Linked DNA regions of Homo sapiens: regions 2, 3 and 4 are each linked to region 1. The links are contacts of gene promoters, found by promoter capture Hi-C in human tissues and cell types (Jung and others, 2019). All regions are on one chromosome and are shown on one strand. Each heading gives the region's core, a stretch centred on a gene start or on the middle of the fragment in contact. The rest is flanking DNA. Distances are from core to core; before and after follow the strand shown.

What was found. The method cuts DNA at HindIII sites, captures the fragments that hold promoters and counts their contacts. A contact is called where the count stands out against the background at its distance.
Region 2: a contact is called between a fragment that was not itself captured here and the fragment with the promoter of CSE1L in region 1, in 1 of the 25 tissues and cell types used here (lymphoblastoid cells).
Region 3: a fragment that was not itself captured here is called in contact with the fragment with the promoter of CSE1L in region 1 in 1 of the 25 tissues and cell types used here (lymphoblastoid cells).
Region 4: a contact is called between a fragment that was not itself captured here and the fragment with the promoter of CSE1L in region 1, in 2 of the 25 tissues and cell types used here (hippocampus and mesendoderm cells).

The regions. Positions count from the first base shown.
Region 1 is chr20:49,043,376-49,049,960 of GRCh38, reverse strand. CSE1L (chromosome segregation 1 like) reads right to left here and starts at 3,649. Exons shown (of 25, transcript NM_001316.4): 1 at 3,538-3,649. It overlaps CSE1L-DT (CSE1L divergent transcript), which reads left to right and starts at 3,905. Exons shown (of 2, transcript NR_110625.1): 1 at 3,905-4,101. RefSeq lists enhancers at 2,651-3,291, 3,257-3,326, 3,877-4,026. The HindIII fragment of the contact is 10,199 bases long and covers 626-6,585 here.
Region 2 is chr20:48,631,359-48,637,943 of GRCh38, reverse strand. It overlaps PREX1 (phosphatidylinositol-3,4,5-trisphosphate dependent Rac exchange factor 1), which reads left to right. Exons shown (of 40, transcript NM_020820.4): 31 at 192-233; 32 at 1,261-1,481; 33 at 3,169-3,268; 34 at 5,305-5,448; 35 at 5,553-5,667. Among named protein-coding and RNA genes, the nearest start is that of PREX1, 190 kb to the left of the region's middle. RefSeq lists an enhancer at 1,767-1,906. The HindIII fragment of the contact is 9,523 bases long and covers 1-6,585 here.
Region 3 is chr20:48,662,691-48,669,275 of GRCh38, reverse strand. PREX1 (phosphatidylinositol-3,4,5-trisphosphate dependent Rac exchange factor 1) reads left to right here. Exons shown (of 40, transcript NM_020820.4): 15 at 2,921-2,993. Among named protein-coding and RNA genes, the nearest start is that of PREX1, 160 kb to the left of the region's middle. The HindIII fragment of the contact is 6,858 bases long and covers 107-6,585 here.
Region 4 is chr20:49,318,912-49,325,496 of GRCh38, reverse strand. No RefSeq gene overlaps it. Among named protein-coding and RNA genes, the nearest start is that of SNORD12, 42 kb to the right of the region's middle. RefSeq lists enhancers at 768-1,267, 1,268-1,769, 5,880-6,461, 6,462-6,585. The HindIII fragment of the contact is 6,734 bases long and covers 1-6,237 here.

The sequences.
Region 1 (6,585 bases), core at 2,400-4,899:
CTGCCTCCTGGGCTCAAGCCATCCTCCTACTTCAACCTCCCAAGTAGCTGGGACTACAGGCACACACCACCACACCTGGCTAATTTTTGTGTTGTTTCTGTAGACATGGTTCCAGTGTTGCCCAGGCTGGTCTGGAACTCCTGAGCTCAAGTGATCCGCCCACCTTGGCCTTCCAAAGTTTATTCTTTGGGAATATTCTTTAAGGAACTATTTGTCAACAAATCCTTTTTATATCGCCTTGCAGATATAGTCTATAAAACCGAATTCTAAGCTTATCCTTAATTTGAGAAAATAAGAGAAATCAGGGACTTTTAGAGAACATTTTACAGGTATTCATAATTATCAACAAGATCAAGCTCTAATTATCTTATGCAACCACAAGTAAAGGTACTTTGACACTCTGAAATATTAGCAATATATAAATGCAAAAAGTGTTACTGATCTAAAAATGACTCAAACTAGAAACAAAACATTCATTTTGGCCAAGTAGGGTGGCTCATGCCTGTAATCCCAGCTCTTTGGGGGGCCAAGGTAAGCAGATTGGTTGAGTCCAGGAGTTTGAGACCAACCTGGGCAACATGGTGCCATCTCTACAAAAAAAAAATAAAAATTAGTTGAGTGTGGTGGTGCACGCCTGTAGTCCTAGCTACTCGGGAGGCTGAGGTAGGAGGATAGACTGAGCCCAGGTCAGCCCAGGCAACACAGTGAGATGGTGTCTCCAAAAAAAAAAGGGAGGGAGAAGATAAGAATTCATTTTTATCACCTTTAAATGAGGGGGTGATACTTTTCTTTCTCCACGTAACTATCTTTGGAAATCTCTACCAATACACAATTAAGAAACTTAAAAAAGCATCACAATAAATCAGTTATGGCAGACATCTAAATTTCCAAGTTCTTCTTGTTGAATGAATGGCCAGACCTAAGTCTAGCATCTTCCCACAGGCCCTCAATTACAGGTGGAGATTTCTGGAATAAAAGCTTTGTTTTCCAAAGCCATCTCACAGACATCTGTGACATAAGCTGATCCAAGATGTCTGCCTTTTTCTTAGATATGTCCTCAACACATTAGAGAACCATTCCCGAGGCCTTACATTTGGGAAGAGGGAAAGAGATCCAATGAATGAAAACTATCTGGCACCCACACATGAAGAACATATCCCAACACCTCAACCTACCCTCTGCTTTCTAACCATAGGAATATACCACTTAGAATCAAATCCAAACTCCTTACATTGCCTACAAAGCCTTCTATGATCCGGGTCCTGGATATTTCTCCCTTCTTCATGTAACACTCTAGGAACCTAAGATATTCCTTAAATATTTCAATATTCCAAGCCGGTTCCTGTCCTTGAGCCTTGAGCCTTCTATTCCCTCTACCTGGAATGTTCTGCCCCTCACCTTTTAATGGCTGGTCTCTACCCAAATGTCACCTCCTCAGAAAAGCCTTCTTCACCTGTCACATAATTCTGTCACTATCTGAAATTATCTAATGTTTTTTCTTTCGCCCACGAGAATACATGGTCCTCAAGGGAAGGGACCTTGTCCATTTTTGTTTTTTCACTATATTCCCAGAGATTAAGTGGATGCTCAATAAAGTTATTAAATGAATAAAGAAACAAATTAATTCCAAAACTAGAGCACTGCTCTTGCATCCATCCAATCCTGTCCCAGACCCCAACCAGCAGAAGTAATCAGAAGGGGAGAGAGACTTCCCTTGCACTGATGGTAAGAAGTGAAAGATAAAGGGTTGTAGGAGCGGAGAGACGAGGTCCATTAGGATCCTCTGAAAGCATGTCAAAAAAAAAAAAAAAAAAGAGAGAGACACACACAGAGAAAGGCCAAAGATATGACTATGTGGGCCCAAGGTGAGAAAAAGAGCAATTGGTGGAATCCAAGACTAAAGGGTCCCCTTCTGTGCCTCCAAGGAAGAATAATACTTGTGCATCTACCATGTGGCAAGCACAGGTGGGATGGCACCCACCAGGGAGAGAGAAGTAAGCAAGACAGACAAGGTCCTTGCTCTCAAACAGCTTACATTCTAGCAGTTGAGAAAGATAACAAGTAAGCAATAAGTAAGTGTTAGTAAATGCTATGAAGTAACTAAAACCAGGTGATGTTGATGGAGAGCCATGGGAGAAAGGTCCTAGACAGGTTGATTAGACAGCCTGATCAACATGGTGAAACCCCGTCTCTAATAAAAATACAAAAATTAGCCGGGTGTGGTGGCGTGTAGTCTCAGACCTGTAGTCTCAGCTATTCGGGAGGCTGAGGCAGGAGAATCGCTTGAATCCGGGAGGCGGAGGTTGCAGTGAGTCGAGATCGCGCCACTGCACTCCAGCCTGGGAGGCAGAGCGAGACTCTCTCTCTCAAAAAAAAAAAAAAAAAAAAAAAAAAAAGAAAAGAGAAAAGAAAAAGAAAAAGAAAACAAAAGAAGAGGTTGGTTAGGGGAGGCCTAAGGTGAGGGAAACTTGGGAGAGGCGGCCTGCCTTGCAAAAATGTTGGTACTTCCCCAGCAAACAAAAGGCATGTGCAAATAATTTTAAATCGGAATAACCCTGGAATATGGAAGAAACAGAAAGCCACACTGGCTAAGGAGAAAGATGGGTGGGAGAGATGAATAAACAACCGTCAGCTCCCAGGGAACCTTTGTAAACCACGGTAAATAACTCAGCGCATCCTCAAAGCCACTTTCCGAGGTAGATTCTGTTATTAACCCCATTTTGCAGCTAAGGAAATGGAGGCTCAGTGAGATGAGGTGACCAGCCTCAAGTTACACCCCTAACGAGAGGCTACGTCTGGAATGAACCCAGGCGATCTAATTCCAAAGTCTATGCTCCGAACCACCACAGCACAGCGTTTCTCCCAAAACGAGGGAACCCTCCCCCAACCCGCGTTACAGGGGATTTCTATGTCCCGGGTGTACCGACTAGAATTCTCACAAACAATTCAGCAAAGTGAGATCACGATGCCCGTTTTACAGTCAGGGATACAAGTACAGAGGTTAGAGAAGGGTGAGTTCGGGGGCTTCACTAGAGTTAGGGCAAGGGACGACGCGAGGCAGCCGCAGCTCCACGCGCCCGCAGTCCCCGCCCGGGCAGGCCTCGCCGCCGCACACTCAGCTCGCGCGGCTAGCAGCCACCGTCGCAGAGAATGGACATGCGAGCGCGACCAATAAGGAGCGGCCTTCCCGAGCGGAGAGGCGGCGGCGCAGCCAATCAGCGCCGTGATGGAGAGGAAAGGGCGGGCAATCCGCAGGCTCGCGTTAGGCCGCGCCTCAGTTGCCCTCAGCCCTCACAGGCCCTGGGGTCGCCGCACCTGGGCCAGAGACCTAGGATGCCGCGAGGCGCGGCAAGCGCTCCCTAGGGAAGCCGAAGACCTTGCCTGAGCGCACCACCCGAACCCCGGGCCCACATTCCGCTCTCGCCCAGAGGCGCGGTTCTCACTCCCTAGCGCTCGTTAGTACCGGGAGCGCCTCATCCCTTCCTCAGCTGGGCCCCAAGAGCCACTCTGGTAGGCCGTGCACGCCCCGCGCCTCACCTCGTGGGGATACAGAAACGGAGGAGGGAACCCCAGCCGCGGACCGTAGCTGGCACTACCCGCTCCTGCCGCCGCTCCGCCTCACATTCAAACCCCGGCAAAATGGCGCGACAGCGAGCCTGAGGCCAGAGCGCATGAGCGAGCGGCCCGCTGCAGGGGGCGGGGCCAGGAATGCTCTGGCCCCACCCAAGTTCGAAGGGCCAATCGGGGCCCCGCTCTGTTTCTGCGCTGATCTCACAAGTGACAATGCTCTTTGGCTCTGACCATGCCAGCAGGCTTCACGGTTCTCGTTTTCCAAAGAGGAACACAGATTCAGCGAGCGGCTGCTGGCTTCTGACCCATTTTGATGTCAGGGCTTGGCACGTAGGAGGTGTTCAATGTTGATCGATCCAAGGTCGTGCACATAGGGTCTAAGACGGAAGAGAACTTCCTGCCCCTCTTGGAGCTTCTATTTTAGAGGGAGACACGGCCAGACAGGTCTCGAACTCCTGGCCTCAAGTGATCCGCACACCTTGGCCTCCCAAAATGCTGGGATTCCAGGCGTGAGCCACCGCGCCTGGCCTGGTATGTAAGTTTTGGTACTCTTATTACAGCCCACAAACCATATGGGATCTGGCCCCTGCCAGCCTGCCTGCCCTCATCACCTTCCGCTTCCCTCCTCTCCTCACCCTCACTCAGCTCCGCCACCCCACCTTCTTCCTGTTCCTCTAAGCTCCAAGCTTATTTCCACTTTAGAGCATTTATACTTGCTGTTCCCTGTGCTGGGATGTTCTAGATTCCTGAATGATTGGCTCCTTCTTTACATTTAGGTTCCAGCTCAAATGTCACCTCCACAAAAGAGGCCTATCTGAAATTGCCCACTCACCACCACCCAGCACACAAATTAGGGTTGCCAGGTTTAGCAAATAAAATGCAGGCTGCCCAGGTCAATGTAAATTTTAGAAAAAAATTTATAATTTTCTAGTATAAATACTGTGTAGGACATATTTATACTTAAAAATCATGCATTGCTTATCTGAAATTCACATTGAACTGGGTGCCCAGTGTTTGATCTGGTAAGCCTAGTTCCATGATATCATTATGGTATTTATCACTCTCCAACTAATTGTCTCTTCTTTATTTTGTTCCTCCTTCCGCTTCTCCCCTCCTAAACCCCTGCCCTCCTCCCCATCCATAACCTAAGGGATTCTATACAGCAAGGGCTTTTCTTTTTTTTTTTTTTTTTTAAAGACAGAGTCTTGCTCTGTCGCCCAGGCTGGAGGGCTGGAGTGCAGTGGTGCTGTCACAGCTCACTGCAACCTCTGCCTCCCAGGTTCAAGCAATTTTCCTGACTCAGCCCCCCAAGTTACTGGGACTACAGGTGCCCGCCACCATGCCCCGCTGATTTTTGTATTTTTAGTAGACACGGGGTTTCACCATATTGGCCAGGCTGATCTTGAACTCCTGACCTTGTGATCCGCCAGCCTTGGCCTCCCAAAGTGCTGGGATTACAGGCATGAGCCACCACGCCTGGCCAGGGCTTTTTTTTTTTTTTTTTTTTTCTTTTAAGAGGCAGGGTCTTGCTCTGTCACCCAGGCTGCAGTGCAATGGCACAATCATAGCTCATTGCAACCTCGACCTCCTAGGCTAAAGCAATCCTCCCACCTCAGCCTCCTGAGTAGCTAGGACTACAGGCACCTGCCACCACACCTGGCTAATTTTGAATTTTTTTGTAGAGATGAGCTCTCACTATGTTGCCCAGGCAAACTCCTGGCCTCAAGTGATCCTCCCACCTCCGCCTCCTAAAGCACTGGGATAGGGCTGGGCATGGTGGCTCACGCCGGTAATCCCAGTGATTTGGGAGACCGAGGCAGGCAGATCACCTGAGATTGGGAGTTTGAGACCTGACCAACATGGAGAAACCCCGTCTCTACTAAAAATACAAAATTAGCCGGGTGTGGTGGCGCACGTCTGCAATCCCAGCTACTTGGGAGGCTGAGGCAGGAGAGTCGTTTGAACCCGGGAGGCAGAGGTTGCGGTGAGCTGAGATCTTGCCATTGCACTCCAGCCTGGGCAACAAGAGCGAAACTCCATCTCAAAAAAAAAAAAAGCCCCGGGATTACAGGTGTGAGCCACCACATCTAGCCCCATATTGATGGTATTCACAGCTGTACCCCCAGCACTAGGCACACAGTAGCTGCTTAATAAATGTTTGTTGCATGTTGAATGAAATGCCATATATAAATAAGTGAAGTCCATGGAGAAAGATACATGAGTGAAAGACATTGGTGAGGCCGGGCACGGTGGCTCATGCCTGTAATCCCAGCACTTTGGAAGGCTGAGGCAGGCGGATCATGAGGTCAGGAGATCGAGACCATCCTGGCCAACATGGTAAAACCCTGTCTCTACAAAAATACAAAAATTAGCCAGATGTGGTGGCATGCGCCTGTAGTCCCAGCTACTCAGGAGGCTGAGGCAGGAGAATCGCTTGAACCTGGGAGGCAGAGGCTGCAGTGAGCCGAGATCGAGCCACTGCACTCCAGCCTGGGTGACAGCGAGACTGTGTCTTAAAAAAATAAATAAATAAATAAAATAAAAATAAAAATAAACCATGATGGTCAGAAGACGGTGGAACATTTTAAAAAAAAACAAAGACATTGGTGAAAAAGATGTATTTTTACTATTGCAGCAATAGTACCAGTAATCACCAGTAATCATTTTAATCGTTCTAATCTGCATTTTTTTTTTTTTTTGAGACGGAGTCTCACACTGTTGCCCAAGCTGGAGTGCAGTGGTGCGATCTCGGCTCACTGCAAACTCCACCTCCTGGGTTCACGCCATTTTCCTGCCTCAGCCTCCCGAGCAGCTGGGACTACAGGCGCCCGCCACCATGCCCAGCTAATTTTTTGTATTCTTAGTAGAGACAGGGTTTCACCGTGTTAGCCAGGATGGTCTTGATCTCCTGACCTCATGATCCGCCCGCCTCGGCCTCCCAAAGTGCTGGGATTACAAGCGTGAGCCACCACACCCGGCCCACTAATCTACTTTAATATAATTAACATGTTCCTC
Region 2 (6,585 bases), core at 2,399-4,898, 410 kb after region 1:
TGAGGTCAGGGGTTCCTGGAGTTTACCTGACAATCAATAAAACCTCCTTGAGCACAGCCTTGGGTGCCAGGGCTTTGCTGTGAAGGGTCAGAGCACCTTGGGAGGTGCCATGGGGAGGGGCCCGGTTCTGCCCTCACCTCTTGCTGCCCCCTCCCAGCCCGTCCCCCTTTCTGTCTCCCTTCTCCTTCCAGATGGGAAGAACCAGCTGCTCCTGGCCTTGCTGAAGTGCACAGGTGAGGCCTTTAAAGGTGTGTGGGGGGCACATACCCGGCCTCTTCCACCACCCAAGGCCGACCATCCATGCCCTCGGGGCCTGGACGGGGGGAGGCAACGCTTTGGCCTGGAGCCCCTCCAAGAGCTACTTGAAACTTGCTTCTTCCTCTTGTGTCCAAGGGACAAGTCTCAGGGCACTGGAGCCAGGAGCCCTGTCCTGTGCCACTGCCCAGGCCTGGGTGGATGTTGACGGGGCCCCGGGATAGAGGACGATGTTAGGGGGCCTTGTGCCGGTAGAGCCTTCAGCCCCAGCCTGGGGGCTTCCACCCAGCAGAGAGTGGGGAAGAGGAAGGGGGAGGAGGTAGCGGGAGAATCTTGGAGACCTTCTCTATCCCTGCCTTCTTTCTAGAAATTAGCCAAGGGGGTGCTACTGCAGGATCTGGGTCAAATTTGGTCACTAAAAAACTCACTGGCCAGAAGCCGGCCATTGGAAATAATTCCTTCCAGAAGATTGGGACCCTGAGAGACCAATTGCTTGAAACTGGCCAGTTCTTCAGACCATGCCAAGGTCAAGGACAGGGGCAAGGGCAGAGGTGGGGGAAGGAAGAAAGCATAGTTCTCCAAAATAGAGAAAATGCTAAACTGCATTTCTGAACATGTGCAGCTTGGCAGAAGAGCTTAGCACCATTGGCATTCTACTGGCCAAGGCCAAGGAATCCCATAATGAGAGGAGAAATGGCTGAGGGTGAGGGTCTTGGGAAACCCTTAGGAAAATCACAAGATGTTTGTTTGTTTGTTTGGTTTTCAAAGCAGGCAGATGAGTCACTGAGAGAACAGTTTTGGCAAATGGGCTTGCTTTTCGTAGAATTGATTTTTGTGGAATTGGCTTTTGGTGGCTGGGATGTCCACCAAAAAGTAATTTCTGGCCTGATGTTAGCCCTTTGCTGGGGGTTCCATGAGGGGTCCTGGACCCAGGGTTTTGGGGGGTGGGCCTCCTGGTGGCACGGGAGCGCCCCTCCAGCAAGGCCTCCTGCCCTCTGCCCCCAGACACGGAGCTGCAGCTGCGCAGAGACGCGATCTTCTGCCAGGCCCTGGTGGCCGCCGTGTGCACCTTCTCCAAGCAGCTGCTGGCGGCCCTGGGCTACCGCTACAACAACAATGGCGAGTACGAGGAGAGCAGCCGCGACGCCAGCCGCAAGTGGCTGGAGCAGGTGGCGGCCACGGGCGTCCTGCTGCACTGCCAGTCCCTGCTCTCGCCAGCCACAGTGGTGAGTGAGTGGGGCGGGAGGGCGGCCCCGCTGGCCCACCCACTGGTGCCCGCCCAGGCCGGGTCGAGGGAGCCCTTGCCCACTTACTCAGGCTCCCCCTGGCCTCGTCATTCCCGCAGCAGCTATTTGTTGAGCACCTGTGTGCTGTTTTATAGGCACTGAAGGTCCAGCAGTGAACAAAACAGAGTCCCTGTACCCAGGGATCTTCTGTCCCAGTGGGAGGGAGGGAGGCACACACACACAGATAACAGAATCCATGCTACAGACCAGCGGCTCTCAGCCCAGGGCAGTTTCCCCACTAGGGGACACTTGGTAATGTCTGGAGATGTTTTTGGTTGTGACAACTGAGGGCCTGAGGTGGGAGTGGGGTGGTGGAAGCCAGGGATGCTGCTGGACATCCGGCCAGGACCTGAGAGTCACCAGTGCCTCTGAGGTTGGCTCCTGGAGCCCCTGCTGCTGGCTGGTGGGGAGGCCTGGCCTTGGAGCGCCCTCTGCTGGCTGCTGCTGCACAAGACGCCTGCCTGGCACAGATTGGCCATCACTTGATTCTCAGAATGCACAACCTGGGGCCCAGGGAGGAAGCAGGGAACACTCAGCCCTCCCCTTCCTCTTCTCACATGGGGATGCTGGGCCAAGTTCCTTCATTCTCCAAACACCACGATGTGCCAGGCCCTGAGCTGGGAGCTGGGGGCCTGAAGCTGACTTCCTAGTTGGGGGAAGCAGCTTGAGAAGAAGAAAGGACAGAGGAGGGAAGGAAGGTGGGGAGAAGGCAATCTCTACAGGAAGCTTGGCGGGCACTGCAGCTTCTCTGTCAGAGACAGCCTGTGTGAGGTGGTGACGCTTGAGCTGAGACCTCAGCCAGCCAGGCAGACAGTGTGAGGAAGAGTGTGCGGGGTAGAGGGACCAGCATGTACAAAGGCCCCGAAGAGTGGCTGGTGTGACCAGAGGGGAGCGGCAGGGGCTAGGGAGATGTGGGGACCAGTTCTGTAGGGCCTGAGACTTTAATCTGGAAGCAGTGGAGGGTTCAGAGGCTTGGAGCTGGGTGAGTGATATAATTTGGGTTAAGTTTTCAAAACATGACTTGTAGGATGTATTGTTTGGGGGCAGAGAGTGGCAGAAGGGAAACCTGGTGTCATCTTGACAAGAGATGGTGGACCCTTGAACCTGGGTGGTGGCCAGGAAGCTGGAGGGAGATGGGTGGGTCTGGAGGATGTTTTAGTGTCACCCCATCAGACTTGGTGATGGACCAGGCCCAGGGTGAGCGGGAGAGAAACTGAGAAGTCAAAGGTTTGGATCTTGGATGACCGAATGAACGCTGGTGCTATTTGCTGACATGGGACCGACTGGGGGAGGTTGAGGAAGGAATTGGGGACTTTTATTTGAGTGTGTTAGGCTCAAAAAGGTTAAGTTAGAAGCCTGGTTGGTGATCCAGGCAAGAGAGGCAGTGACTTTACTAGGATCACTCAGTGAATTAAGGCAGAGATGGGTTCTATGACCCTTGAAAGTGCAGGACAAGCCACAGAGCACACCATGATTTCACATCCACTCTGGAGAGTCACGCTCAGGACCTGGCACCCAGGGGGCCCACAGTGTGGAGTGCCGACTAGAGTTGAATTCAGCATCTTGATAGGAAACCCTGGGGCAGGGTTGGCATCTGAGACTCCTCCGCGCTGTCTTCTTCCTGCAGAAGGAGGAACGGACCATGCTGGAGGACATCTGGGTGACGCTGTCAGAGCTGGACAATGTCACCTTCTCCTTTAAGCAGCTGGACGAGAACTATGTGGCCAGTGAGTGATTTCTCCCATCCCCCACTGTGAGAGGTGGGGTCCTGGGGTGGAAGGGACAGCTCTCTGGGGTCACCCTGTCCTTCCCCTGCCTCTGGGCCAGCTGCCCAAGGTGGGCTCAGTACTCAGTGCTGTCAAACCTCATGCCTCCAACATGAGTGTGAGAGCCGAACTTTGGGGCACACATGGAAAAAGAGGGGTTTCTTTTTGTATGAACCCGGCTATTTCCAACAGCTCTTAAAAGAGAATGACACTGGTACCCAATTCTTAATAAAATTATTCCCTAGAGATGTGAAAACTTAAGATTTTTAAAGGGCTTAAATAAGTACCATAATTAAGTTCCATCCTCCCTTCCTCCCTTGCTCGTGTCCTCACCTCTCCTTCCTCCACGCTTTCTCCCCTTTCTCCCTTTTTCTTTCTGTCTTTCTCTCTGTGTCTATTTTCCACCCATCCTTCCACCTGCCCACCCATTTATTTATCCATCCATCCATCCATCCATCCATGCATCCATCCATCCATCCATCCATCCATCCACCCACCCATGTGTCCATGCATCCATCCATCCAGGCATCCATGCATCCATCCATCCATCCGTCCATCCATCCATCCATCCCACTCATCCATCCATCCATGCATCCATTCATCCATCGATCCATCCAAACATCTGTCCATCCATCCATCCATCCATCCAACCATCATCCATCCGTCCATCCATCCATCTATTTACATGTCCATAATTTTGAGCACATAGTATATGTCAGGCTGCGTTTTGGGCCATGTAACATGGTCCTCATTCCTACCCTCCTGGAGCTCATAGTCTAGACCAGTGCGTCTCAGCCCTGCTTGCACTCTGGAATCATTGAGGGAACTTTGCAACGATCCCAGGGCCCTGGGCCCTAGCGATTCTGATCGGTTTGTGGGGTGGGGTCTGGGTGCTGGGTAGTCTGGATGTGCAGCCAGGGCTGGGAACTTCTGGGCTTGCTTCTGAAAGCAGGGGTTCTCAGAGCGTGGCCCCTGGACCAGCAGCACCTGGGGGCTTGATAGAAAGGCATATTCTCCGGCCCAGCCAGAACTACGGCCTCAGAAACTCTGGAGGTGGAGTCCAGAGGCCTGTATGCTGAAAGCCCTCCAGGGGCTTCTGAGGCATGTGGGTTTAATTAGGAACCAGGCACTGGATTAGTGTTTCTCAGTTTTTTCATTTCATTAGATTTTATTTAATTTCATAAAAAACCTTTTTAGTCAATTTTTCCTAATTGCTGCACCCCCATGAAATTATACTACTACGGGTATACCCTGTGTCTGTTTATCTGTGCATCTGTGCTTATTATACATTAAAAGAGGAAAGTGTTTTCATTCTCCTTCCCACGAGCCAGTTTTCACCTCCTTGGGGACAGTGTCTCTCCTGCTGAAAATGCATGGACTAGAGTCTAGATGAAGGGCAGGTTCTCTTTGAGTAGCAATTGGAATTGATAGGCAGCAGCAGCTGCCTGTCTCCAGGCTGAGATTGGCTCGGGCAGAGCTTTGATCGATGAGTGATGTCTGCCATGGGTGCAGGATGGGGTCTGGGTGCCATATTTTGCACCCCCTGCCCTAAGCGCTTCCTTCTGGCTATGAATCAGATGTATACCCTGTTTGAGGGCAGCTTTTCCCAGGCAGGGGCCATGGGCTACCGGGTGAGGGTACAAGGAGCGCTGGGGAAGCTCTGACCCCAAATGCTGTGGACCCCCTAAGTAGGCAGAGTCCGCATCAGGTTCAAGAATTAAGCAGCGGAACTAGGAGCTGATGAAGCAGGCGAAAGGGAGGTGTCAGCTGCAGTTCTTCGGAGAGTGAGAGGGAAGGGCTGCTGGAGGCTGTCCCTAGAGGGCAGGAGGGCAGGGAGGTCTGAGGCTACCCCTGTAGAGTCGGGAGAACAGGGAGGTCCCAGGGTGCCCCCCTGGACCTGGGGGCAGGGAGGTGCCAGCTGTTCTGGAGAGGTGTGCCAGGGCTTCCCCTGGCCTTGGCCTCGGTGGTGAGTCATCCTGCCCCATATCCTTCCGCAGACACCAACGTCTTCTACCACATTGAGGGCAGCCGGCAGGCGCTGAAGGTCATCTTCTACCTCGACAGCTACCACTTCTCCAAGCTGCCCTCCCGCCTGGAGGGTGGGGCCAGCCTGAGGCTGCACACAGCGCTGTTCACGAAAGGTGAGCTTCAGGCCTGGGGCAGGGAGGACCACGGGGGCCGGGCCAAGGCCACCAAGCACACCGGCTCCCAACCGCCTGCCCGCCCCCGACATCTCCCCTCCCAGTGCTGGAGAACGTGGAGGGGCTGCCTTCTCCAGGCAGCCAGGCCGCGGAGGATTTGCAGCAGGACATCAACGCGCAGTCCCTGGAGAAAGTTCAGCAGTATTACCGCAAACTCAGGTATCCGCCTGGGGTCCCCGTTGGGGGCAGGAGTCAGGAAACCTCCACGTGGAGTGGGCATTAGCATGGAAGGTGCCAGGCGGACCCCCAGCATGGGCAGTGGGCCGCACACCCTTTCTTGAGCACCTTCTGTGTGACAGCACTCTTGCCTGCGTGAGATTCTCAATGGCAGCAGGCCATGGATCCCACTTTACAGAGGAGGCGACTGAGGCCCAGAAAGTGTACACACTTGCCCAAGGTCACACAGCCAGGCAGTGGCTGAGCTTTGAACTGGGGTCTGTTTGGTTTCAAAGTGGGTCTTTCCTACTGAGAGGAGCCGGCTTCATTCTACAGAGGGTGGGAGCTAGGACAGGGGACCTTGGGACTCTTGGGCCTGTGAGTGAGGGGTGCGGCTCCCAGGGTCTTGGCTGCTCAGAAGAGAACCCCAGGGGAGGAGGGGTGAGAGCAGGAGCCAGGTATCACCAGGAGGAACCACAGGTTCTGGGAGGCAGCTTCTAAGTTCTGCAGCTCCCACTCCTACCACCCTCCCCCACAGCCCTTCCTGCGTGTGTCTCACCACCTCCCTCTGTGACAGAGGCAGGCCGAGAATTAAGACCCCAGGGAGATGAGTACGGGTCTGGGCTTCATCATTTGGAAATGAGAGAATGAGGCTTCATTCGTTTGCTCAGAGAAAGCATCCAGCCCAGTTACTGAAAACTGGCATCTGTTTGGATTGATCAGGGCTGTCATCAGTCTGTTCTGCGCCATCTGTGGAATACTCTGAGTCCTGCCTGTGTGATGATTCATTCATCCCTTCATTCACACATGTTGAGGCCTTCTGCGGGCCGGGCACTGTTCCGGGTGCTTGTTTGGGAATGTGCAGTGAGCAAAACAAAGTCCTGTTCTTCATGGAGCATATATTCTAGAGCAGGGGTTGTC
Region 3 (6,585 bases), core at 2,286-4,785, 380 kb after region 1:
TCTGAGGAGGTGGTACGGCCCTGAGACCTGCAAAGCCGGGGCAGGGCATTCCAGGTGTGCAGGAAAGGACGAGTGCAAAGGCCTTGAGGTGTGCAGAGGGCACCTGGGGGTGGGCAGGCGGGTGGGGGAGTCAAGGCAGGGAAGCATGGCGGGGGAGGTTGCAGGGGTCTCGTGTGTGGCGGCTTCCTCTGGGAGAGGAGAAATTGCATCCTTCCCAGAGGGCTGCAGGGAGGTGGCAGGGCTTCCTGTTCAGGTGGCACATCTGGGCCTTCTGTATCACTGTTGACCTGAGAGTCCCTGCTGGCCTAGCTTTAGGAGCTCCAAGACCCTGTGGGGAGGCTGGGACTGTGAGCGCCTCAGAAGGCCAGGTGGCTCCAGCTGCCTGCCGGGCCTCCCATCTGCAGAGCTAGGGCCTGCCGCCATTGGGCCCTGCTGGCCTCCCCACTGCCGGCCCCTCACGGCGTGGGGGAGGCTGCTCTGGATATGGCCTCTCATAGCCACCACCCCTGGCAGGGTTCCCAACCCGCAGGCCCTCCAGCTACTGGCTTGGGGTCCTGTGGGAGAAATGTGTCTTTATGGAGTCAGCCAGGGCAGGCAGTGTGGTGAAATGCCAAGGCCAGAGGCTCTGCCCCAGGCCTTCTGCCCAGGGCTGAGTCCTGCTGCCTCTGAATAGCACCCCTGTCTCCTCTGGTTGGAAAATCCCCTCTGGCTGTGGACGGGAGGGTACAGGCGGGGCCTCTCAGGGCTCCTCATTCTGGGAGGCGTTTCAGTGAGACTAGGTGGTGCCTGTGGCTTTCTCTTTGGAGTTCAAGCTCATTGACCTGGCTGCAAGCTCCTACACAATCTGGCCCCTGCTGACCACTCCTTTATTAAATCAGCAGACAGCTATTGAGCAGGGACTCTAGGTCAGCCCCGTTCCCAGCACTTAGGATTGAGCGGGGACACAGCAGTGCCGGCTCCTGGCCCCCACGGGCCTGACTCAGCTTGTCCTCCCCTGGTCGGCCGTGCTGCCTTCTGGTTCCTCTGCGCTCCAAGCTTCTGCCCATCTCCAGACCTTTGCCCCTGCTGTTTCCTCTGCTTGACAGTCCCTCCCACCTGCACATGCGCATGCACGCACACACACACACACGTGTCACACACTTGGCCGGGACGTATTGAGTGTATTTGGGTTGCAAGCAACAGAAACAGGCCCTGGCTAATTGAAGGGGGGATAACAAAGGATGACTCACTGAAGGGAGGTGGGGCACTCAGAAAGCCAGGGCAGGCCTAGGAGGCCTTAGGAAGAACTGGCACCGGGAAATGCTGAGAAGCTAGCAGGTGGAGGCTCTGTCCAGCACACCGCTGTGAGGGACAATCAGCGCTGCTTTTCCTTGTCCTTGGGGTCCTCCACTCAAGTGTCATGTTCTTGGGGCAGGGAGCATCCCTTTGGCCTCAGCCTGGCCTAGGAGGGCTGCAAACCTTGATCAACTGCCCCACCAAGATGACATCCCACCTGGGAGAGTTGGCCCCAAAGGCCAAACCCGCAGGGTCCAGCACACGGGCCGTGCCTGTTCATTCTTCACGTTTCGGGTTGGATGTCACTTCCTTCGGGAAGTCCTGAGATGAGTCAGATTGCCTTGGTTCAAATTGTATCAGTTTGGAATATTTTCATTTGCCAGGATAACAAGCCCAACTGAACAGTGGCTTACAGAGATGCCACCTATCAAGAAGCATGGAGCTAGGTGGTTCCAGGGCTGGTTTGTGGGCTCAGTAGCAGACAGAAGAATCTTCCATTCTTCACCCCACCATCCTGAGCATCACTTCCTCACATGACTTTATCCCAGGCAGGGAGGAGTGGTGCTGCTTTTCCCTTTTACCTGGGGGGGAAGATGTTTTTCAGAAGCCCCTGGTAGGCTTCCCCAGTCGTCTTATTAGCTGGTGCTTGGTCAGTTAGCAATTGAACTTGATTTCTAGTATTAGAGACACAATTATGGAAGCTGAGCCAAATTAGGGTTTGTGTTTCTGTAGCATGAGAGAAGTCCAGAGGTGGGTGGTTCAGAGCTGCTGGAGTGTCTCCTGATATCTTTGGGGACCACACTCTCTGTGTCTTTCTGCTCTGCCTTCCTTAGTGTGTTTCCAGCCATGAGGGCACCTTGTAGTCTAAAGTGACTGCAAGAGTTCCAGCCACCACATCTTTGTTCCAGGCGGGAGGAAGAGAAAGAAAGGGCCAGGGACAAGGGGTTTTTGCCAGAGCATCCCACCAGTGATTTCTGCTTATAGCTCATTGGCCACCTGTAGCTGCAAGGGAGGCTGGAGATGGATGAGGGCTTCTTGACCAGGGAGGAATGGGAAAGGTGTTGCTAGGCAACCAACATTGTCTGCCGCTTAAAATCTCCATTTTTTCTTTGCGGTATTGATCACAGTACAATAAAATAGTCTTGTTTGGAGTTTATTAATAATAATCACAAATGGGGCCAGGCGTGGTGGCTCATGCCTGTAATTCCAGCACTTTGGGAGGCCAAGACGGACGGATCACGAGGTCAGGAGATTGAGACCATCCTGGCTAACACAGTGAAACCCCGTCTCTACTAAAAATACAAAAAATTAGCCGGGCGTGGTGGCAGGTGCCTGTAGTCCCAGCTACTCGGGAGGCTGAGGCAGGAGAATGGCTTGAACCCAGGAGGTGGAGCTTGCAGTAAGCCGAGATCGTGCCACTGCACTCCAGCCTGGGCGATAGAGTGAGACTCTGTCTCAAAAAAATAATAATAATAATAAAAAATAATAATCACAAACCCGTTTTGGGGTTACTGCAGTAAACAAAACAGACAACCCCTGGCCCTCGTGGAGCCTACCTTCTTGGGTGGTTGTGGGCTTCTCGTTGGCCATGCATGGCCTCTCGGATGCTGCCACCTAACACCCTCCCCTTCTTGTTCCATTCCAGGGAGACTGCCAGACTCGGGAGGAGGCAGTGGCGCTCGGCGTGGGTCTGTGCAACAATGGCTTCATGCACCACGGTAACCACCCCCACCTGCAGCCCAGCCCCCGGGACCTTGCTCCCTGGAGCTGATGGTTTGGGGGAGTATGGGAGGACTGAAGCCAGGTCTGTGGCTCTCTAGACCCCCGGGGGTTTGGGGAGGCTCACGAATCCCACCTCCCTCCCCTTCCCGTTCTGAACCGATCGAGAAATGGCTTCTGGTGTCCACTGGGGACCAAAATGGCTGGAAGGACATGGGCTAGATTTGAAGTCCAACCCATGGGTTTCCTGTGCCCTTCTTCCTGGGGGGGATGTGGCCTTCCAGGGTAGGCAGCAAGGCCAGATGAGGCAGGCCTGGCCCGAAGGCCTCCGTGAGGAAGGAGGAGCTGTGCCCTGTGGGACAGTGGGCAGGTGGGTTGTGAATGTGAGAGGCAGGAAGCCCTTCCTGGGATGTCTGCCTCTTTCCCCGGCCTCCTCCCTCAGATAAGTGACTTTTCTTTCCATTGGGAGAGAGGCAGGTATTGGGGGGTGAGTTCTGAGATGTTCCTGAGGCAGGAAGATGGCAAGAAGGAGGACGAAGTGGCTCCATGGACACCGGTTTAAATTACAACAAAAGTTAGTGTTCAGTGTGCCTGGGCTCTTTCTAGACACTTCACATATATTTATTAGTTTAATACAGCAGCCCTTTGATGTGAGTATTAACATCAGCCCCATTTTATAGATGAGGGTATAGAAGCTCAGATAGTTAAGAAACTTTCTCAAGGTTACATGGCAAGTAGAAATCGGGATTAGAACGCAGGCCATCTGGAGCCAGGATTAGAACTCAGGCCGTCTGGAGTCGGGATTAGAATTCAGGCCATCTGGAGCCAGGATTAGAACTCAGGCCGTCTGGAGTCAGGATTAGAATTCAGGCCATCTGGGGCGGGATTAGAATTCAGGCCATCTGGAGCCAGGATTAGAACTCAGGCCGTCTGGAGTCGGGATTAGAATTCAGGCCGTCTGGAACCAGGATTAGAATTCAGGCCGTCTGGAGCCGGGATTAGAATTCAGGCCGTCTGGGGCGGGATTAGAATTCAGGCCATCTGGAGCCAGGATTATAATTCAGGCCGTCTGGGGCAGGATTAGAACTCAGGCCGTCTGGAGTTAGGATTATAATTCAGGCCGTCTGGGGCCGGGATTAGAATTCAGGCCGTCTGGGGTGGGATTAGAATTCAGGCCGTCTGGAGCCGGGATTAGAATTCAGGCCGTCTGGAGTCGGGATTAGAATTCAGGCCGTCTGGAGTCGGGATTAGAATTCAGGCCGTCTGGAGTCGGGATTAGAATTCAGGCCGTCTGGGGCGGGATTAGAATTCAGGCCGTCTGGAGTCAGGATTAGAATTCAGGCCGTCTGGAGTCGGGATTAGAATTCAGGCCGTCTGGGCCGGGATTAGAATTCAGGCCGTCTGGAGCCGGGATTAGAATTCAGGCCGTCTGGAGCCGGGATTAGAATTCAGGCCGTCTGGAGCCGGGATTAGAATTCAGGCCGTCTGGAGCCGGGATTAGAATTCAGGCCGTCTGGAGTCGGGATTAGAATTCAGGCCGTCTGGAGCTGGGATTAGAACCCAGATCGTGCGGGTTTAGAGGCTGCACACTCAACTACTGTGCTATGTAGCCTCTCCCCTTGAAGGTCCTGGGGGATCCCTGAGTTTCCTGTCCTTTCAACAGGACAGGTAAACCTTTAACCCCCGCCAAGGTGCCATTTTCCTGTTTCTAGAACATTCCTCAGAGCCTTTGCACTTGCAGTTTCCCTTGCCAGGGTGCCCTGCCTGCCTCATCCCTGCAGGTAACTCAGTGTTTCTGCTCAGTTGACCCCTCCCCAGTGAGGGCCTCCCCACAACCCCAGCTAAAATAGCTCCTCCCCGTCATCACTCTGCTCCTAGCTCGGATTCTCTCTCTTTTTTTTTTTTTTCAGACGGAGTCTTGCTCTGTCGCCCAGGCTGGAGTGCAGTGGCAGGATCTCGGCTCACTGCAAGCTCCACCTCCTGGGTTCACGCCATTCTCCTGCCTCAGCCTCCCGAGTAGCTGGGACCGCAGGCACCCGCCACCACACCCGGCTAATTTTTTGTATTTTTTAGTAGAGATGGCATTTCACCGTGTTAGCCAGGATGGTCTTGATCTCCTGACCTCGTGATCTGCCCGCCTTGGCTTCCCAAAGTGCTGGGATTACAGGCGTGAGCCACCGCGCCCGACCAGATTCTCTTTTTTTTAAGGGCCTGTTCTCTCCCTGTTAGGCAGATCCCATCACTCCTTTCTGTCTTTGTTCATTCTGACATCACGTGTGGTGTCTTTGGTGTTCCAGGCACCGTGCCAGGTTCTGGGAGCAGAGTGTGATGACCAGGACAGATAACAGTCCCGTGTGTGTGTGTGTGTGTGCGCGCACTCACACTTGTATGTGTGTGCACACATGTGCATGTGGTGTGTGCAGGGGAAGGAAACAGGGATGCCAGCGAGGAGGTGGTCATGATAGTCCAGGGGAAGGAGGATATGGCTGGGACCTGGTGGTTGCAAGGGGTTAGAAGTGGTCAGATTCAGAAAACCCTGAGCCACAAGAAGGCCTTTTGGCTGTTTCTCCTTTCTGATATTGGCTTTTTTAGTTCTAACTCAGAGATCTGCAAACTCCGTCACAGCTGCTTAACTCTTAACTCTTCCTTTGTAGCACAAAAGCAGCTATAGAGAGTATGTAAACAAATGGGCATGGTTGTGTGCCAATAAAACTTTATTTAGAAAAGCAGGTGGTGAGCCATAGTTTGTTTTTTGAGACGAAGTCTCACTCTTGTCACCCAGGCTGGAGTGCAATGGTGTGATCTCGGCTCACCACAACCTCCGCCTCCCAGGTTCAAGTGATTCTCCTGCCTCAGCCTCCTGAGTAGCTAGGATTACAGGCATGCGCCACCACACCCAGCCGGGCCATAGTTTGTTGAGCCCTGGTCGGCCTGCTGGATTTGCGGTTCCCTTGGCAGAGTGAGCCACGTGCTGGAGACCTGAGAGGCCTTTGGATCTATCCCCTGCCTTGTGGCCAGCAGGTCCCTGACTCAGCTGACTCCCAATAGGCCCATATGCCTCTCTGGGCCTCAGTTTCTCCAGTTTTCCATTGGAGGCCTTGCATTCCCCTCCTGTGCGCTCAGCATGCCCAGAGTTCTGTGGGAATAGGACTCACTCTTTAGCTTCCAGTTTCCCCAGCTGAGGTGGGCAGGTAAGGGCCAGTCTGGACAGCTGAGGGCATTTTCATGTGTCTACCTCATCTCACCAAAGTCCTTCATTCCCAGAAGCTGCTCTGTTTGCCTCGGGGCCCTCTGACAGCCCCGAGCCTCCCGCCAGTCAGCTGGGCACAACCTCTCATTTGTGGGTGAGGGTAATTAGGGGTCCTCCCCAGCTGCTATTCCGGGAAGGCTGCTGGCTGTGGACATTCTGCTGGGTGGTGACTCCCAGGCAATCCTGATGTCCTCAAGGGCTCTCAGGGAGAGAAATTGCAGGGCGTGACCCTGCTCCTCTGTTCCCTGCCACGAACTCAAAAATAGGCTAAAATAGGAAAGGGCCAATTCCAGGATTGTGGCTGCAGCAAAATACAGGGTGAGGTGCAGGATGGGCGATTG
Region 4 (6,585 bases), core at 1,621-4,120, 280 kb before region 1:
TGCACCCAAGGTGTTTATTGTCCCCCATTTTGGGGAAGGGGGCCCTTGGCTGCAGATCCTACTCTCACAGGCTCCAATAACACCATTTCCTCCTGTCCTGTACTGCTGCCCCCACCTCTGTGAATAGAGCCCTTGTTTTCTATTATACCCTTCTGGGGGTACCATCTGTCACTTGCCAGGTCCCCAACTCCTAATGTGTTTGCACTATTGTCAAACCCAGCTCAGAGATGAGGCCACTGGGGCTTAAGAGGCAGAATCCCTAAGTTGAGCCAAGGATGTAGAGTCAGACAAACCTGGATTTGAACCACAGTCTCGGGTTTGTTGCAATGGCGAATGCAAAGCACTGGCCATACTGTAAATGCCCAGTTCAATGGTCTTTATGCATTCGTTCAACAACAATTTAGGACCTACTGTGTGCAGAGCACTGGGCTGGGTGCTGGGAACACAGATGACCAAAACAGGTACAGCCCTGCCCTCAAGGAGCTGACATTCAGTGGGGGAAACAGACAATAAACAATAACATGCAACCATGTAATTTCAACTAGTGATCTGTGCTTTGAGAAAAAACAGCAGGTCAAGAGTGGCCAGGGTTGAGAGAGAGGCAGGGAAAAAAAGAAAGAGTGCCAAGGGTGGTGTAACAAGAAACTATTTTAGGCAGGAGTCAAGGAAGTCCTCCAAGACAAGGACATCTGAACAGAGCCCCCAAGAAAGTGATGAAGGGAACTGTGTAGGAAGGGAACTGTATTCCAGGCACAAAACAGGCAGTGCAAAGTCGCTGAGGCAGGGTAAAGGTAGGATATCAGAGGGACAGTGAGGAGGCCAGTGTCGCTGCAGGAAAATAAGCCAGAGGAAAAGTGGTAGGAGGTGACATCAGAGAGGGAGGGGACAAAGATAGCATATAGGGCCTTGAGGACTGTTGTAAGGAGTTCAGATTTTATTCTAGGCATGACGAAAAGCCATTGCCGAGTTCTGAGCAGAGATGTGACGTGGTGATACCAAAGGTTTCAAAAGGATGACTGCCCATCTCTCTGGGTGGGGGTGAGGGCAGAAGCATGATGGCTCCTGCGGTTTCCCAGGAGAGAAAGGATTATCTACAGTAGAAGAAGCTGCTAGAAGAATGAGTTTTGTGTCACTGAAAGTGTTCACAATGTGGCTAAAAAACCTGGCAGGAAGACTGCAGACCAGATTCAGGCACTGGCTGGACAGCTGGACCAAGGGGTATCCCCAAAGTCCACCACGATCTCCTGCCCTGCCTGCCAGGCAGGTGAGAGATTTTGCGGAAAATTAGGCAGGCACCACCCTGCACGTGTTCTACCCGTCTCACTGGCAGCACGCACACAAGAGGGAACCATCATCACCCCTCGCATAGGCCCAGGATCACAAACTCAGTACATCTGTGGTTATTCTCGTAGTGTCTGCCTCCTCCATTAGAGTGTCAGCTCCACAACAATAGGGTCCTCATTTGTCATGTTCCCTGCTGTATCCCATCACCAAGCACAGGGCCTGGCACACAGCAACTCAGGAAGTGATGTGCCACTGAACAATGAGTGAGCAAATCTTGCCTTAGCAACAACAAAGGAAATATAACCACAGGCTGACATTGCAAAAAGGCAACACCAGATAGCAGTGTTTCTCAAAGCAAAGCCCAGCCCACTTTTCCTGACCAAAGAAGAAATTCTAGCTTCCCAGCCTTACAGAAAGGGGTAGGGCGGTGGTAAGGCTGCTCACTGAGTCCTGGATACCCAGATGACATCGTGCCAGCTGAGCCTGCCATGGCCAGACCACATTTCCCACAGACCCCTTAGAATCGCTTCACCCCACCCTTACAGGCCCAGGCTCATGAAGGAACACCTTTTTTTTTTTTTTTTTTTTTTTTTAAGATGGAGTCTCTCTCTGTCGCCCAGGCTGGAGTGCAGTGGCACCATCTCGGCTCCCTGCAACCTCCGCCTCCCAGGTTCAAACGATCCTCCTGCCTCAGCCTCCGGAGTAGCTGGGACTATAGGCACGTGCCACCACACCCAGCTAATTTTTGTATTTTTAGTAGAGACAGGGTTTCACTATGTTGGCCAGGCTGGTCTCAAACTCCTGACCTTGTGATCCACCCACCTCAGCCTCTCAAAATGCTGGCATGAGCCACGGGGCCCAGCCAAGGAATGTCTTTCTGCATTATCCAAACCCCGCTTTCTCCTCTGAACCACACTGCCCAGCCTCCTTACCATCTGCCCTCCTTATTGTCTACCAAAAGGATTTTCTAGAATACAGTTCTGGCCTGTTCCCTGAAATCCCTCAGTGGTTCCCATCTCCTATTGAGGGGGTTCACGAAGGATCTTTTTTGACAGTGGATCATAGATGGAGACCCCCAAGCTCAGTGGCTAAAAATCTACATTTTCCTGCAACTCATCCACAGTCATTTACCGTGCCCTCCTCCTATTCAACATCTCAGCACACTTTACCCAAAGTTTCCCAAAGCACGTGGTCTCCCACAGCTGAGTAGTACCCTCCCAGCCTCCTTTCCCCCATCTTCTGGGAATACCACCTCAGTTTTCTTCTGAGAAACCAAAACTCCCCACTCTCAATCCACATGGTTTGGACAGGGCTGATCGCACCCTCTCGTTCCTGGTATGAGGCAGGTGACCCCCACATGGCCAGTTGATATATTCCTTCTCCCTGGGTTCAGTGATTGATTGGGTCAGCAATGACCATTTAATCCAAACTGAGCCCATGAGAACCAGCCCTGGGATTTTGGCTGGAACTGGGGAAAAATGCTCTCAATCCATTAAGGATGGCAGTTTACAGCTACTGTCTTTGACCACTAGCTTTGCTACCACTTGGTGACAGCATGCCTGTAAATGAAGTTAACACAAGAAAAGCCGAAGAATGGAAAGAGATAGAGTCCTGATGACATCCTTGGAGCCCCTGGATCCAGTCATGCCTGAAGCTCTGGAATCCCTGGGTTGTTCTTTAGTTACCTAAGCCAATAAATATCCTTGTTAACTTAAGTTAAATTGTGTCACAACCCTAAGAGTACTAAGTCTACAGGAAACACATAAGTGTATATGTAGGGACATCAACCATACAGGGTTGAGATGATATTTAAGAAGTATAGAATACATGGAAACATTCTGTAAATAACTTGGAAAATACAGTGGTGTCTATCTTTCAAGGCCTTACTAATCACTCCAGCCCCACTCTCTCCCTGCCTCCACACCATCCTCACCAATCATTTCCAAGCTTCACCTTGCTCAGACTGAAATTATTTATTCCTTTCCCAACTACCTTGTCTCCCAAAAATAGACAATAAGCTTGAGGGGTACCAGAACTCCAGCCTTGCTTCCATCCCCCAGTGCTTCTAGCTGAATTGGGCACACAGAAGGTGGCCACCAATTGTAATTGAGGCTGGGTGTGGAGGCTCACACTGGTAATTCCAGCACTTTGGGAGGCCAAGGCTGGAGGATAGCTTGAGCCCAGGAGTTTGAGACCAGCCTGGAAAAGATGGTAAAACTCCATCTCTACAAAAAATACAAAAAAAAAAAAAAAAAAAAAAAAAAAAAGCTGGGTGTGGTGGCCCACACCTGTAGTCCCAGCTACTCAGGAGACTGAGGTAGGAGGATCACTTGAGCCTGGGAGGCAGAGGTTGCAGTGAGCCATGATTGCACCACTGCACTCCAGCCTGGGTGACACAGTGAAACCCTGAAAAATAAAAAGAAAGGAAGGAAGAAAGAGAGAGAGAAAAAGAAAAGAAAAGAGAGAAGGAAGGAAAGAAAGAAAAAGAAAAAAAAAGAAAATTTTAATTGAACTAAATGGGGAAGATGTCAAGGGGTCTCCTTACACCTGTAGACTCAAGCTTCCCTCTCCTAACATTCTTGAGTCTCTGCCACCCTTGAGCTGCTATACAATATTGAGATCTGGAGTCAGACTGCTGGAGTGCAAATCCCAGATCTGCTGTTTAAGAGCTGTGCAACCCAGAACACGTCACTTAACCTCTCTGTGCCTTAGTTCCTCATCTGTAAAACAGACATGATAACACTGTTCCATAGCGTTATTATGAGGCTTAAATGAGACAATTTACTTCAAGCACTTAAAATAGTACCTTCCTGACATTTGGTATTTCATAAATATTAGATTTGTTGTTTGCGGATTTTGTTTGTTTTTTAAGTCATCTTCAACATCTCCCTCTATTACAATTGATCACTTAAGGCAGTTGACTTTATCTCCTAAAAATAGCCCATGAAAAAAGCAAATACTTCTCTACATCTTTTGCCTCCTAACTAGTCCCCTCCTGCCTGCTCCCCTGGGAGGTGGAAAGTGAACTTTTCCCTGCGTCTCTTCACAAGACCCTGCTCCAGATAAGGAGGCAGATCCCAAAAGAGCAAAACAAAGGTGAAAGCAAAGCTTTGAGGCTCCTGGTTCCTCCAGCCCCCACTCCGTATAGAAAGGACATCTCTTGGGAGGGGCTAACATTGTGTGATTCTGTGGGTGTCGGTCAGACCATGAGAAAGTATCACTGATGCCTTTGCCTGGACCCATCCTGGGCCCCCACTCCTGCGCTGTGGCAGGGGAGCCCCTGTTGGTGGTGCTAACCTGGGACTTCAGCTCCAATCAGTACAGACCCGCGGCTGCATGAACTCTCTACACAGAAAACCAACCAGTACAAAAGCACCCCCAGGCAGTCCTTCCCCAAATTTAATCTGGAAGGAGTTCTCTTTTGCCTATGGCTTGAGAAGACACCACATCCAAAATTACTTTCTCATCTCACTGCTGCCTGAATTTCCAACGTTGGCCACTCCTGGCAGCAAGGAGCTAGAAGACTCAGAATCAGACCCAGCTCCTCCACTGGCTGGGAATTCTTGACTGCCCAAAGCCCTCTCCTCTCTGAGCCTTGCTTTTCTTGACTGCTAAACAGGGATGTTATTCCATACCTGAACCCCAGAGGGCAGGGAGAATGTATTCAGGTTCCAGGGGACATCCAGCCCAGCTTCTGGGCACAGAGGGATAGGTGATTAATGGATGTTAGGTCCCTTACATTTTTATTTATTTATTTATTTATTTATTTATTTTTGAGACATGATCTCGCTCTGTCACCCAGGCTGGAGTGCAGTGGCATAATCATAGCTCACTGCAGGCTCAACCTCCTGGGCTCAAGTGATTCTCCCACCTCAGTCTCCTGAGTAGCTGGTGCTACAGGCAGTCATCACCATTTGAGGCTAATTTTTTTTTAATTTTTTGTAGAGACTGGGTCTTCCAATATTGCCCAGGCTGGTCTCGAACTCCTGGCCTCAAATGATCCTCCCACAGCCTCCCCAAGTGTTGGGATTACAAGCATGAGCCACTGTGCCCGACCCATTATGCATTTTTTTAAAAGCGCCCTCTCTGTCTTTTAAAACAAATTTCTGAAGGAAGCTCTAGTGATATCACACGGTAGAGGGGCCCAATCAATCACTTTCCTCCCTGACATAGGAAAGTTGGGTCATAACCGTTTTACAGGGTGACAGAATTTAGATTTTTTTTTTGTCTCCAGTGGGTGTGAAAACTTTACTTCTGGGATTTAAAAAGGATAGAGAGCCAGACATGGTGGTGCGTGCCTGTCATCCAGCTACTTGGGAGGCTGAGGCAGAAGAATCGCTTGAGCCCAGGAGTTCGAGGCTGCAGTGAATGATGATCGCACCACGGCACTCCAGCCTGGGCGACAGAGCAAGGCTCCATCTCTAGAAGAAGGGAGTGGGGTGGCGGGGGGGGAGGGGATAGGCAGCGTCCTTCCCACTAATGACTCAACTAAAATAGCCCTTAATAGAGCGCTGTGGGTACCACTCTGGAGGAGCCTTTACCAGGAATGCTTGGACTAGCCCGGTGGCCACGCCCAGCACGCGGACCACAGATGGACTTCACCTGCGTATCTGTCAGGCCCCTCGGCTTCTGGACCCGCCTGCCTGAGTTCTAACCAGCTTGGACACACTAGTTTTGGAATCACTCAGACCGTTCCGCCTCCGCTTTGAGCGTCTTTCCATCCTTGCTCTCCAAGCGTTAGCCCTTTTCTTGGTTTCTCCATGCTCCTTGTCACCTTCTCCATTCGCCTTGTGACCCCTCCGCCCGAAAGAAGCTTGCAACCCCTCCTCCCTCGCAGCTCTCTTGGCCCCGCGCCCGTCCCCAGCTGGGGCTCTCAGATAAAATACAGGACTCCGAGTTAGATTTCAATTTCAGAAAAACAACAAATAATTTTTTAGTATAAGTATATCCCATGCGATATTTAGGACATATTTTTCTCTAGAAAGATTTGTTTATCTGAAATTCGAGTTTAACTGGGTGTGCTGTATTTTGATTTGCGAAATCTGGCGCCCTACCTCAACCCAAGCGCCTCCCTCCCCTCGAGGCCCTCCAAGCTTCACGACCCCCCCGACACCGCTTACTGGGTGCGCTCCTTCCTCTCTCGCACCAGGCGCTCTCCTTCCTGCCTGCGCCTCTTGTGCTCATTTCCCTTCCACCGCCTGCGTCCCGCACCTGGGCCGAATCCTCCACCTTCCTGCCGCCCTTCAAGTCCTGTGAGCAGTCCTTGCGCCCCTCCTCCGAAACACCCCTCAACTCTCCACG